2 separate regions of the Homo sapiens genome follow, and region 1 is linked to region 2. Evidence: promoter capture Hi-C in human tissues and cell types (Jung and others, 2019). All regions are on one chromosome and are shown on one strand. The core of a region is centred on a gene start or on the middle of the fragment in contact, and the rest is flanking DNA. Distances in the headings are between cores, read along the strand shown.

Region 1 (5,895 bases), core at 1,796-4,295, 540 kb after region 2:
AAATAAATAAACATAATAATAAAATGTTACATGGTTCACCTCATTTCATCCTTTTTTTTTTTTTTCTTTGGAGACAGGGTCTCACTGTCACCCAGGCTGGAAAGCAGTGGCACCATCTTGGCTCACTGCAGCCACGACCTCCAGGGCTCAAGTGATCTTCCACCTCAGCTGGCACATGTCACCATGCCCGGCTAATTTTTGTATTTTTGGTAGAGACAGGGTTTCGCTATGTTGCCCAGGCTGGTCTCTAAATCCTTGGCTCAGGCAATCCCGCTTTGGCCGCCCAAAGTGCTGGGATCACAGGTGTGAGCCACCATGTCCAGCCCGCCTCATTTCATCTTTACAGCACCTCCTATCATTATCCCCATTTGACAGACAGATCAACTGAGGCCTAGAGAGAAAGAAGGTGCCCATGGTGTGAAAGATTTCAATCAGCAGACCCAAGCTGTCCAGCTCCCAAGTCAATGTTTGGACAGTTAACCTTCCAACAACACAGGTTTGAGCTTCATGGTTCCCCTTAAACACAATTTTTCTTCTGCCTCTGTTACCCCTGAGACAGCAAGACCAACCCCTCCCCTTCCTCTTCCTCTTCCTCCTCAGCTCACTCAATGTGAAGACCATTTTTTTTTTTTTTGAGACGGAGTCTCCCTCTGTTGCCCAGGCTGGAGCGCACTGGTGTGATCTCGGCTCACGGCAACTTCCGCCTCCCGGGTTTAAGCGACTCTTGTGCCTCAGCCTCCCGAGTAGCGGGGACTTCAGGTGTGAGCCACCATGCCTGGCTAATTTTTGTATTTTTAGTAGAAATGGGGTTTCACCATGTTGGCCAGGCTGGTCTCAAACTCCTGACCTCAAGTGATCCTCCCACCTTGGCCTCCCAAAGTGCTGGGATTACAGGCATGAGCCACTGCACCTGGCCCCTAATTTTTTTTTTTATTTTTGGTAGAGACAGGATTTTCACCATGTTGGCCAGGCTTGTCTTGAAGTCCTGACCTCAAATGATCCACCTGCCTTGGCCTCCCAAAGTGCTATGATTACAGGTGTGAGCCACCACGCCCAGCCTCTGAAAACCTTTTTGATGATCCACTTCCACTTAATAAATAATAAATGTATTTTCTTTTCCTTACATTTTAATATTTTTTCCCTTAAAAGGAATGGCAAAAAAAAAAAACGCAATTACTTTTGCACCAACTTAATAACATTTTCTTTTCTTTTCTTCTTCTTTTTTTTTTTTTTTTTTGAGACGGAGTCTCATTCTGTCACCCAGGCTGGAGTGCAGTGGCGCAATCTTGGCTCACTGTGACCTCTACCTCCCGGGTTCAAGAGATTCTCCTGCCTCAGCCTCCCAAGTACCTGGGATTACAGGCACGCACCACCATGTCCGGCTAATTTTTGTATTTTTAATAGAGACGTGGTTTCACCATGTTGGCCAGGTTGGTCTCAAACTCCTGACCTCGGGTGATCCGCCCGCCTCAGCCTCCCAAAGTGCTGGGATTATCGGCGTGAGCCACCGCGCCCAGCCACATTTTCTTTTCTTCAGCTTACTTTATTGTAAGAATACGATATATATAATACAGAGACACAATATGTGTATGTTGATATGTTGTCCGTAAGGCTAAGAGTCAACAGTAGGCTATCACTAATTAAGTTTTGGGGGACTTATATGCAGTTATATGCAGGCCGGGCATGGTGACTCATGCCTGCAATCCCAGCATTTTGGGAGGCTGAGGTGGGAGGATCTCTTGAGGCCAGGAGTTGGAGACCAGCCTGATCAACAGATCACAACCCTGTCTCTACAAAAACTTAAGGCATACACAGATTTCTAATTTCACAGGGGGTTGGTGCCCCTCACACCCATGTGGTTTGAGGGTCAAATGCATTATTTCCTTTCGTTGCTGTAACAAGACACCAATGCCTTGGTGGCTTAAAAAAACACAAATTTATGGACGGGTGCGGTGGCTCATGCCTGTAATCCCTGCACTTTGGGAGGCCGAGGCAGGTGGATCACCTGAGGTCAGGAGCTTCAGACCAGCGTGGCCAACGTGGTGAAACCCCATCTCTACTAAAAATACAAAAAATTAGCTGGGCGTGGTGGTGTGCACCTGTAATTCCAGCTACTCAGGAGGCTGAGGCAGTAGAATTGCTTGAAACCAGGAAGCAGAGGTTGCAGTGAGCCAAGATCGCATCACTGCACTCCAGCCTGGGCAACAAGAGCAAAACTCGTCTCAAAAATAATAATAATAATAATAAATAAAAACCACAAATTTATTATCTCACAGCTCAGGAGGACAGAAGCACAAAATGCATCTCACTGGGCTACAATCGATGTGTAGGCAGGGCTGTTTCTTTCGGAGATTTTAGGGGAAAATCTGTTTCCTTGTCTGTTTCACCTTCTAGAGGCCGCCCACATTCCTTGGCTCCTGGCCACTTCTTCCATTTTTAAAGACAGCAATCACATCAAACCCACCTCGCTTCCGTCGTTCCATGTCCTCCTCTGACTCTGCTACCACCCTCTTCCATTTTTCTTAAAGAGACGGGGTCTCACTATGTTGCCCAGGCTGGTCTCAAAGTCCTGGGTTCAAGCAGTCCTCCTGCCTTAGCCTCCCAAAGTGCTTGAACTACAGGCATGAGCCACTACACCCAGCCAAAGTCTTCAACTTGGCCAGGCGCAGTGGCTTACACCTGTAATCCCAGCACTTTGGGAAGTCAAGGCAGGCAGATTACTTGAGGTCAGGAGTTTGAGACCAGCCTGTCCAACGTGGTGAAACCCCATGTCTACTAAAAATACAAAAAATTAGCCGGGCATAGTGGTGGGCGCCTGTAGTCCCAGCTACTCGGGAGGCTGAGGCAGGAGAATCACTTGAACCCAGGAGGCAGAGGTTGTGGCAAGCCAAGATTGCGCCACTGCACTCTAGCCTGGGTGACAGAGCAAGACTCCATCTCAAAAAAAAAAAAGAAAGAAAATAAAAAGTAAAAAATAACTATATTATCTGGGTGTGGTGGTGCATGCCTGTGGTCCCAGCTACTCAGGAGGCTGAGGTGGGAGAATCGCTTGAGCCCGGGAGGCAGAGGCTGCAGTGAGCTGTGATCACGCCACTGCACTCCAGCCTGGATGACAGAAAACACTGTCTCTAAAAAACCAAAACCAAACAAATAAAAATAACAAAACAAAAACTTCTCCAATCCCCACTAACCATTAGTGTGATCCCATTTCACGACGGGCACACTGAGGTTGCTTGCTCGGGCCACACAGCTGGTGAGGAGCACAGCCAGGAGTCAAACCAACGCCCTGCTGGAGCCAACCCAGGCCTTTTCCTTGGCAGGTACTGGGAGAAGCAGAGATAACGTTGCGGCAATGGTGTGGAAGAAAAATTGGGAAAATTGAGCTGTTGGACAAGGCCAGGATTGGGAGAGGCAGCCTTCGGGTGCCAGCCTTGCTGGCTGTGACGGCTGACCCACCCAAGTGCAGTGGGCGTGGGCGATAAGAGAACTGCCACAGCCTGCCCAGTCACAGTGCTGGTGCCAGGACATCAAATGCCACCCAGCCCCCACAGCTTCCGGACACTGGCCAAGTCCCCAAGGGCTGCAGCGGCCCAAGGCCTCACCCGTACAGCCAGCCACTGGCCTCTGCCTTCCCAGAAGTCTGTGCCTGGGGAATGAGCATCGCCAGCTGCCCAGACACCTCTTTTGACAAAGGGTTTGAGGACAGCATCTGGGTGGGGAGGCTCAGAAGGGTTAAGGGCAAAAGATAGAGCGCCTACTGTATGCTGGACTATGTTAGGCACCAAACCAGAGATTTGCTTCTAGAAACATTTAACCTTTTTTTATTTTTTATTTTTTGAGACAGGGTCTCCTTTTTTGCCCAGGATGAAGTGCAGGGGCGCAATCATAGCTCACTGCAGCCTTGACCTCCTGGGCTCAAGTGATCCTCCCGCCTCAGACTCCCTAGTGGATGGGACCACAGGCATGCACCACCACGCCCCGCTAATTTTTAATTTTTTGTTTTGCAGAAACAGGGTCTCACTATGTTGCCCAGGCTGGTATAAAATTCCTGGGCTCAAGTGATCCTTCCGCCCTGGCATCCCAAAGTGCTGGGATTATAGGAGTGAGCCACCACACCCGGCTCAGCCTAAGAAGCTTTAAAAAGATCCAGATGCCACACACACACAGAAATTAATAGGTCACAATCTGGAAGGAGACTTCTTGGCTGAGCTACCTCTGAGGTGAAAACAGCTAGCCAAAGATTTGTAGAAGATTCTTTCACATGGAAAGCTAAAATCTTCCATGGACTTGAGGACTTACTTATAATTAGCTTTTAGTCCCCCTGCCAGAACAGAGGGAATTTATTAATTTTATTATGTAAGAGTTTATTTGTTTACTTGTATATTTGAGATGGGGTCTCATTCTGTTACCTAGGTTGGAGTGCAGTGGCACAATGTCGGCTCACTGCAACCTCTGCCTCCTAGGCTCAAGCAATCCTCCCACCTCACCCTCCAGAGTGGCTCGGACCACAGGCATAAGCCACCATGACCAGCTAATTTTTTTGCATATTTTTGGGAAGAAGGGGTTTTGCAATGTTGCCCAGGCTAGTCTCAAACTCCTGGACTCAAGCGATCCACCCACCTTGGCCTCACAAACAGCTGGGATTATAGGAGTGAACCACGATCCACCCACCTTGGCCTCACAAACAGCTGGGATTACAGGAGTGAACCACTGCACCGGGTCTCTTGTTTGTTTATTTATTTATTTATTATTTTTTGAAATAGTGTCTCACTCTCTTGCCCAGGCTGGAGTGCAGTGGCGCAATCTTGGCTAACTGCAACCTCTGCTGCCCAGGTTCAAGCAATTCTCCTGCCTCAGCCCCCTGAGTAGCTGAGATTACAGGTACCTGCCACCACGCCTGGCTAAATTTTGTAGTGTTAGCAGAGATGGGGTTTCACCATCTTGGTCAGGCTGGTCTCGAACTCCTGACCTCAAGTGACCTACCCGCCTGGGCCTCACAAAGTGCTGGGATTACAGGCGTGAGGCACTGCACGCAGCCTAAAATAATATTTTAAAATAATGCTCTCTAGCCCGGCACAGAGGCACATGCCTATAGTCCCCTACTTAGGAGGTTGAAGGGGAAGGATCGCTTCAGCCGGGGAATTCAACCAGCCTGGGGAACATCATAAGACTCCCTCTCAAAAAAAATTTTTTTTTAAATTAAAAATAAATAAATAAATATCATGTTCACCTTGGGGATCGATTGGGAAATGGCAAAAGAAAAGTCTTGGCGGGGCGCGGTGGCTCACAACTGTAATCCCAGCACTTTGGGAGGCCGAGGCGAGCGGATCACTTGAGGTCAGGAGTTCCAGACCAGCCTGGCCAACATGGTGAAACCCCGTCTCTACTAAAAATACAAAAATGAGCCAGGCATGGTGGCACATGCCTGTAATCCCAGCTACTCGGGAGGCTGAGGCCAGAGAATCACTTGAACCCGGGAGGCAAAGGTTGCAGTGAGCCAAGATCACGCCATTGCACTCCAGCCTGGGCAACAAGAGTGAAACTCCATCTCAAAAAAAAAAAAAAAAAAAAAAAAAGCCAGGCGCGGTGGCTCACGACTGTAATCCCAGCACTTTGGGAGGCCGAGGCGGGCAGATCACGAGGTCAGGAGATCAAGACCATCTGGCTAACACAGTGAAACCCCGTTTCTACTAAAAAAATACAAAAAAATCAGCCGGGCATGGTGGCGGGCGCCTGTAATCCCAGCTACTCGGGAGGCTGAGGCAGGAGAATGGCGTGAACCCGGGAGGCGGAGCTTGCAGTGAGCCGAGATCACGTCACTGCACTCCAGCCTGGGTGACTGAGTGAGACTCAGTCTCAAAAAAAAAAAAAAAAAAGGAAAAGAAAAGTCTCTAG
Region 2 (5,614 bases), core at 1,174-3,673:
GGCCCAACAACCTGCTTTCAATTCTTTTGGGGCTATACCCAGAAGTGGAATTGCTGATATGGTAATACTATTTTTAATTTTTTGAGGAACTGCCATACTGTTTCCCGCAGCAGCTGCACCATTTTACATTCTCAGCAAGGGTACACAGCATTCCAATTTCTCTACATCTTGGTCAACACTTGTTATTTTCCAGGTTGCTTGGCTGGTTGGTTGGTTTTGGACAGTAGCCATCCTAATGGCTGGGAAGCGGTTCTCGCTTTGCTTTTTTGGAAGGGAGGTGGGCGGGTGGCATTTTTCCACAGGAGCCTTTAGATCTATCAGGCTCGAGTTGCACAATCTTGCCTGGCTTATCTCTGGGACACCTCCTGGCAGCTAATAAGAAAGGGCTATCTTTAGCCACTATGGCTTAGAAAGGTTAGGAACCTGCCAAGGTCACAGGTAAGCTGCAGCATCAGAAAGTGAACCTGAAGTCTTTTCCCCTCTTGATTTCACTCTGCCTAATTGTTATTCACTGCCTTTAGGCACAAAGAAGTGAGGTCTATGCCAACATTACACAGCTGGTTCAAGAAGCCATGCTCTCAGGCACCAAAGGGTGACACACACCTGTAGTCCCGGCTACTTGGAAGGTTGAAATGAAAGGATCACCTGAGCCACTGCACTTCAGCCTGGGGGACAGAACAAGACCCCATCTCAAAAAAAAAAAAAAAAAAGAAGGAAGAAAAGAAGGCCGGGCACAGTGGCTTACGCCTGTAATCCCAGCACTTTGGGAGGCCGAGGCAGGTGGATCACCTGAGGTCGGGAGTTCAAGACCAGCCTGACCAACATGGAGAAACCCCGTCTCTACTAAAAATACAAAATTAGCTGGGCATGGTGACGCATGCCTGTAATCCCAGCTACTCGGGAGGCTGAGGCAGGAGAATCACTTGAACCTGGGAGGTGGTGGTTGCAGTGAGCTGAGATCGCGCCATTGCACTCCAGCCTGGGCAACAACAGCGAAACTCTGTCTCAAGAAAAAAAAAAAAGAAAAGAAAAGAAAAGAAAAAAAAATCATAGGAAAGCAATGAGATGTTCTTTAGGTGGTAGCACACATAAAAATGTTGCCACGCCAGGCGCGGTGGCTCACGCCTATAATCCCAGCACTTTGGGAGCCTGAGGCAGGCAGATCACGAGGTCAGGAGTTCAAGACCAACCTGGCCAACATAATGAAACCCCGTTTCTACTAAAAATACAAAAAATCAGCTGGGTGCGGTGGCGGGCACCTGTAATCCCAGCTACTCGGGAGGCTGATGCAGGAGAATGCCTTGAACCCAGGAAGCAGGCTGGAATGCCTTGCACTCCAGCCTGGGCAACAGAGTGAGACTCTGTCTTAAAAAAAAAGAGAGAGAAAGAAAAAAAGATGCCATCTTAACATCTTGTTTCTTGCAGAAATACCAGTGTCTAGCATGGAACCAGCACCTTAGAGTCAGCACTGATCTTTTCTTTGTTTTGTTTTGTTTTGAGACAGGCTAGTCTCAAACTCCAGGGCTCAAGCGATCCTCCTGTCTTAGCCTTCCAAAGAGCTCAGACTTACAGGCGTGAGCCACTGCACCCAGCTACATGCTAGGATTCTATGTATGTTTCATTAAACAACTATATAGCACCTACTGAATAGGAGACACTATCACGCCAGGCTGGGCTCGGTGGCTCACGCCTGTAATCCCAGCACTTTGGGAGGCGGAGGCAGGAGGATTGCTGGAGGCCAGGAGGTCGAAGTTGCAATGAGCTATGATTGTGGCACTGCACTTCAGCCTGGGTGACAGAGCAATACCTTGTCTCTAAAAAAAAAGTAATAAGAAGAATTCTCACGCCAACGCTGACACAGGCACTAGTATGACCCTCATTTTACTAAGGAGGAAAGTACCGCACAGAGAGGTGAAGTCTGTCCAGGGTAACACAGCTAGTAAGTGGCAACGCTGGGATTCGAACCCAGTAAATCTGGCTGCAGACGCCATTTTGCTATGCAGCCTCTCATAGAATCTACTTATTCTCTATGCTTATTGTGTATCCCACGCACACACTGTAGGATGTAAGTTCCAGGAGAAGCTGCTCGCTGCTTTGCCGTTAGAACCCCACCCTGCACAGAGCAAGCGCTCGACCTATGGAGAAATAAACAGCCGCTTTCTCTCCCGCGCAGGCGCATCGGGAAGGATAACGGAGCCTCCCCCTTCCTGCGCCGATTGGTCATCACCGATGACTGACGGAGGAGTGGTCGCAGGCGCACCAGGCCAGACCAAAGGCGGCTTAGCCCAGTCTAAGATCCTGTTCCCCATGCCTATTGGCCATTGCTTATGACTGACGTATCAAAAAATCCAATGGAAAGCAACCTCTTCTGGAAGAGGGCGGGCCCCGCGGACAGTCAAATTTGCGCGGGTTGGAGCCTGGCGTAGTCATGGCCGCCTTCCGCGACATAGAGGAGGTGAGCCAGGGGCTGCTCAGCCTGCTGGGCGCCAACCGCGCGGAGGCGCAGCAGCGACGGCTGCTGGGGCGCCACGAGCAGGTGGTGGAGCGGCTGCTGGAAACGCAAGACGGTGCCGAGAAGCAGCTGCGAGGTGAGGGTCGGAGCGTGGTCGCGGGCCCACGGGGGAAGGGGCCCGGGTGCTGGGAGGGGGCGACCAGGCCCACCTCAAAACCCCTTCTCTCCTGGACTCTCCCATCTCCTGCCCTATGCCCCCTGGGACGGCCCCCTCTGAGCCTTAGTTTCACCATCTGAGAAATCGGCTTTATGACAGCAACCATCCCCCACCCCCCAGGGGTTTAGTGGTAAATATAGGAGTCTGGAGGGGTTGGCCCCTTCTGAGCTCTCCGTGAGCAGGAGCTGGGGGTCTCAGGGTTTGAACTGGGGCTCAGGAGTCAAAGCTCCGGGTTTGAATCCTAGCACCCATCCCCATGTCCGCTGTGAGACTTGAGGTGAGTTTCTTAAATTCTCTGTGCCTCAGCTTCCTTCCTTGTCAAATGGTTGTGACAATAGCCCATCCCTTCTTCCTGAAGGCATTCAGATGTTTTATGGAGCATCTGCTGCTGCCAGGCCCTGGGCTCACCGCAACCTCCACCTCCCGGGTTCAAGCTATTCTCCTGCCTCAGCCTCCTGAGTAGCTGGGATTACAGGCGCTTGCCACCGCACTCGGCTAATTTTTGTATTTTTGGTAGAGACGGGGGGTCACCACGTTGGCCAGGCTGGTCTCAAACTCCTGACCTCAGGTAATCTGCCTGCCTCAGCCTCCCAAAGTACTGGGACTGCAGACGTGAGCCACTGTGTCCGGCCCATCTTCACTATCTGTAACTGCACAGTTCAGTGGCCTTAAGCACATTCACACTGCTGTGCAACCATCAGCACCATCATCCATCTCCAGAACTTTCTCATCTTTCCAAACTGAAGCTCTGTCCCCATGAAACACTCACTCCCCATCCCCTTCTCAGACCCTGGCACCCACCAGGGTTCTACTTTCTGTCTCAAATTTGACTCCTCTAGGAACCTTACGAGGAATTGTACAATATCTACCCTTCCTAGTGGAATCATACAATATCTACCCTTTTGTGTCTGGCTTATTTCATGGAGCATAATGTCCTCCAGGTTCATCCATGTCATAGCCTGTATCAGAATTTCCTTTCATTTTGTGTACTTACTGTGAGACAGAGCCTCGCTCCATTACCCTGGCTTGAATGCAGTGGTGTGATCTTGGCTCACTGCAACCTCTGCCTCCCAGACTTAAGTGATCCTCCCACCTCAGCCTCCCAAGTAGCTGAGAACACACTTATGCGCCACCATGCCCAGCTAATGTTTGTATTTTTAGTAGAGATGGGGTTTCACCATGTTGGCTAGGCTGGTCTTAAACTCCCAGCCTCAAGTGATCGCCCACCTCGGCCTCCCAAAGTGCTGGGATGACAGGGGTGAGCCACTACGCCTGGCCAGAATTTCCGTCCATTTTAAAGCTGAGTCATATTTCATGATATAGAAGGATGGACCGCATTGTGTTTATTCATTCATCCATCCATGGGCACTTGGGTTGTATCCACCTTTTGGCTGTGTTGAATAACGCTGCTATGAACACGGGTGCCCAAATATCTCTTCAAGACTGTATTTTTTTTTTCCTTGAGACGGAGTCTTGCTCTGTCACCCAGGCTGGAGTGCAGTGGCGCAATCTTGGCTCACTGCAAGCTGCGTCTCCTGGGTTCACGCCATTCTCCTGCCTCAGCCTCCCGAGTAGCTGGGACTACAGGTGCCCGCCACCACGCCCGGCTAATATTTTTATATATATTTTTTTAGTAGAGACGGGGTTTCACCGTGTTAGCCAGGATGGTCTCGATCTCCTGACCTCATGATCCACACGTCTCGGACTCCCAAAGTGCTGGGATTACAGGCATGAGCCACCGTGCCCAGCCATATTTTCTTCTTTTTTTTTTTTTTCCCAGGACAGTCTTACTCCGCTGCTCAGGCTGGAGTACAGCAGCGTGATCTCTGCTCACTGCGACCTATGCCTCCTGGGTTCAAGCAATTCTCCTGCCTCAGCCTGCCAAGTAGCTGGGATTACAGGCACGTGCCAACATGCCCAGCTAATTTTTGTATTCTTAGTAAAGATGGGGTTTCACCATGTTGGCCAGGCTGGTCTCAAACTCTTGACCTCGTGATCCGCCCGCCTCGGTCTCCCAAAGTGCTGGGAATATAGGCATGAGCCACTGCGCCCAGCCCAAGACTCTATTTTCTTTTTTTTATTTTTTTGATATGGAGTCTCGCTCTGTCACCCAGGCTGGAGTGCAGTGGCGTGATCTTGGCTCACTGCGAGCTCCGTCTCCCGGGTTCACACCATTCTGCCTCAGCCTCCCGAGTAGCTGGGACTACAGGCACCCGCCACCACGCCCGGCTAATTTTTTTTTTGTATTTTTTTTGGTAGAGACAGAGTTTCACCGTGTTAGCCAGGATGGTCTCGATCTCCTGACCTCGTGATCCACCTGCCCCGACCTCCCAAAGTGCTGGGATTACAGGCGTGAGCCACCACGCCCAGCCAAGACTCTATTTTCAGTTCTTTTTTGTATTCAGCCAGAAGCAGATCAAATGGTAATTCAAAGTTTGATTTCTGAGGAACCGCCATACGGTTCTCCCTGACAGCTGCAGTGCCAGGGGTTTCAGGTGCCTTATACAGTCACATTTTATGAGGAGGCCTGGGCTGAGCCTTGATTGGCCTATGGAGCCAGTCCACGGGGTGGCTCAGGAACGGTGTTCCTGGCAGCGTGGATTGCAAATGCAAAGGTCAGGAGGTGAGAATGAACTTGGCAAGCAGAAGATGAGCTCAGCAGCCGCCTGACTGCCAGGCCTGGAGAGTGCCCAGGAGGAGTCTGAATATTATCCTGAATGTGATGTCCCAAGCAGGCTCTTCCCTCCTTCCCTCCTCCTTCTTCCACCCCTCCATTAACTCCCCCTCCTTTGATGGCTTGAGGAGAAAGATGTGACTCGGCCAGCCTGGCTGTTAGCAGAATGGATGAATCTGGGGCCAAGAAAACTGAGAATCAGGATCCAGGGATCCTAGGCTTTGGGTCAAACAGATCCAGTTCACATCCTAGGTTTGGAGCTATGTACCTG

What was found. The method cuts DNA at HindIII sites, captures the fragments that hold promoters and counts their contacts. A contact is called where the count stands out against the background at its distance.
Region 1: a contact is called between a fragment that was not itself captured here and the fragment with the promoter of SPC24 in region 2, in 1 of the 25 tissues and cell types used here (heart left ventricle).

Annotation. Positions count from the first base shown.
Region 1 is chr19:10,610,313-10,616,207 of GRCh38, reverse strand. It overlaps a transcript of SLC44A2 not described here. Among named protein-coding and RNA genes, the nearest start is that of SLC44A2, 12 kb to the left of the region's middle. The HindIII fragment of the contact is 8,359 bases long and covers 1-5,895 here.
Region 2 is chr19:11,152,591-11,158,204 of GRCh38, reverse strand. It overlaps SPC24 (SPC24 component of NDC80 kinetochore complex), which reads left to right and starts at 2,423. Exons shown (of 5, transcript NM_182513.4): 1 at 2,423-2,588. The coding sequence starts at 2,429. RefSeq lists a silencer at 2,307-2,466. The HindIII fragment of the contact is 16,265 bases long and covers 1-3,481 here.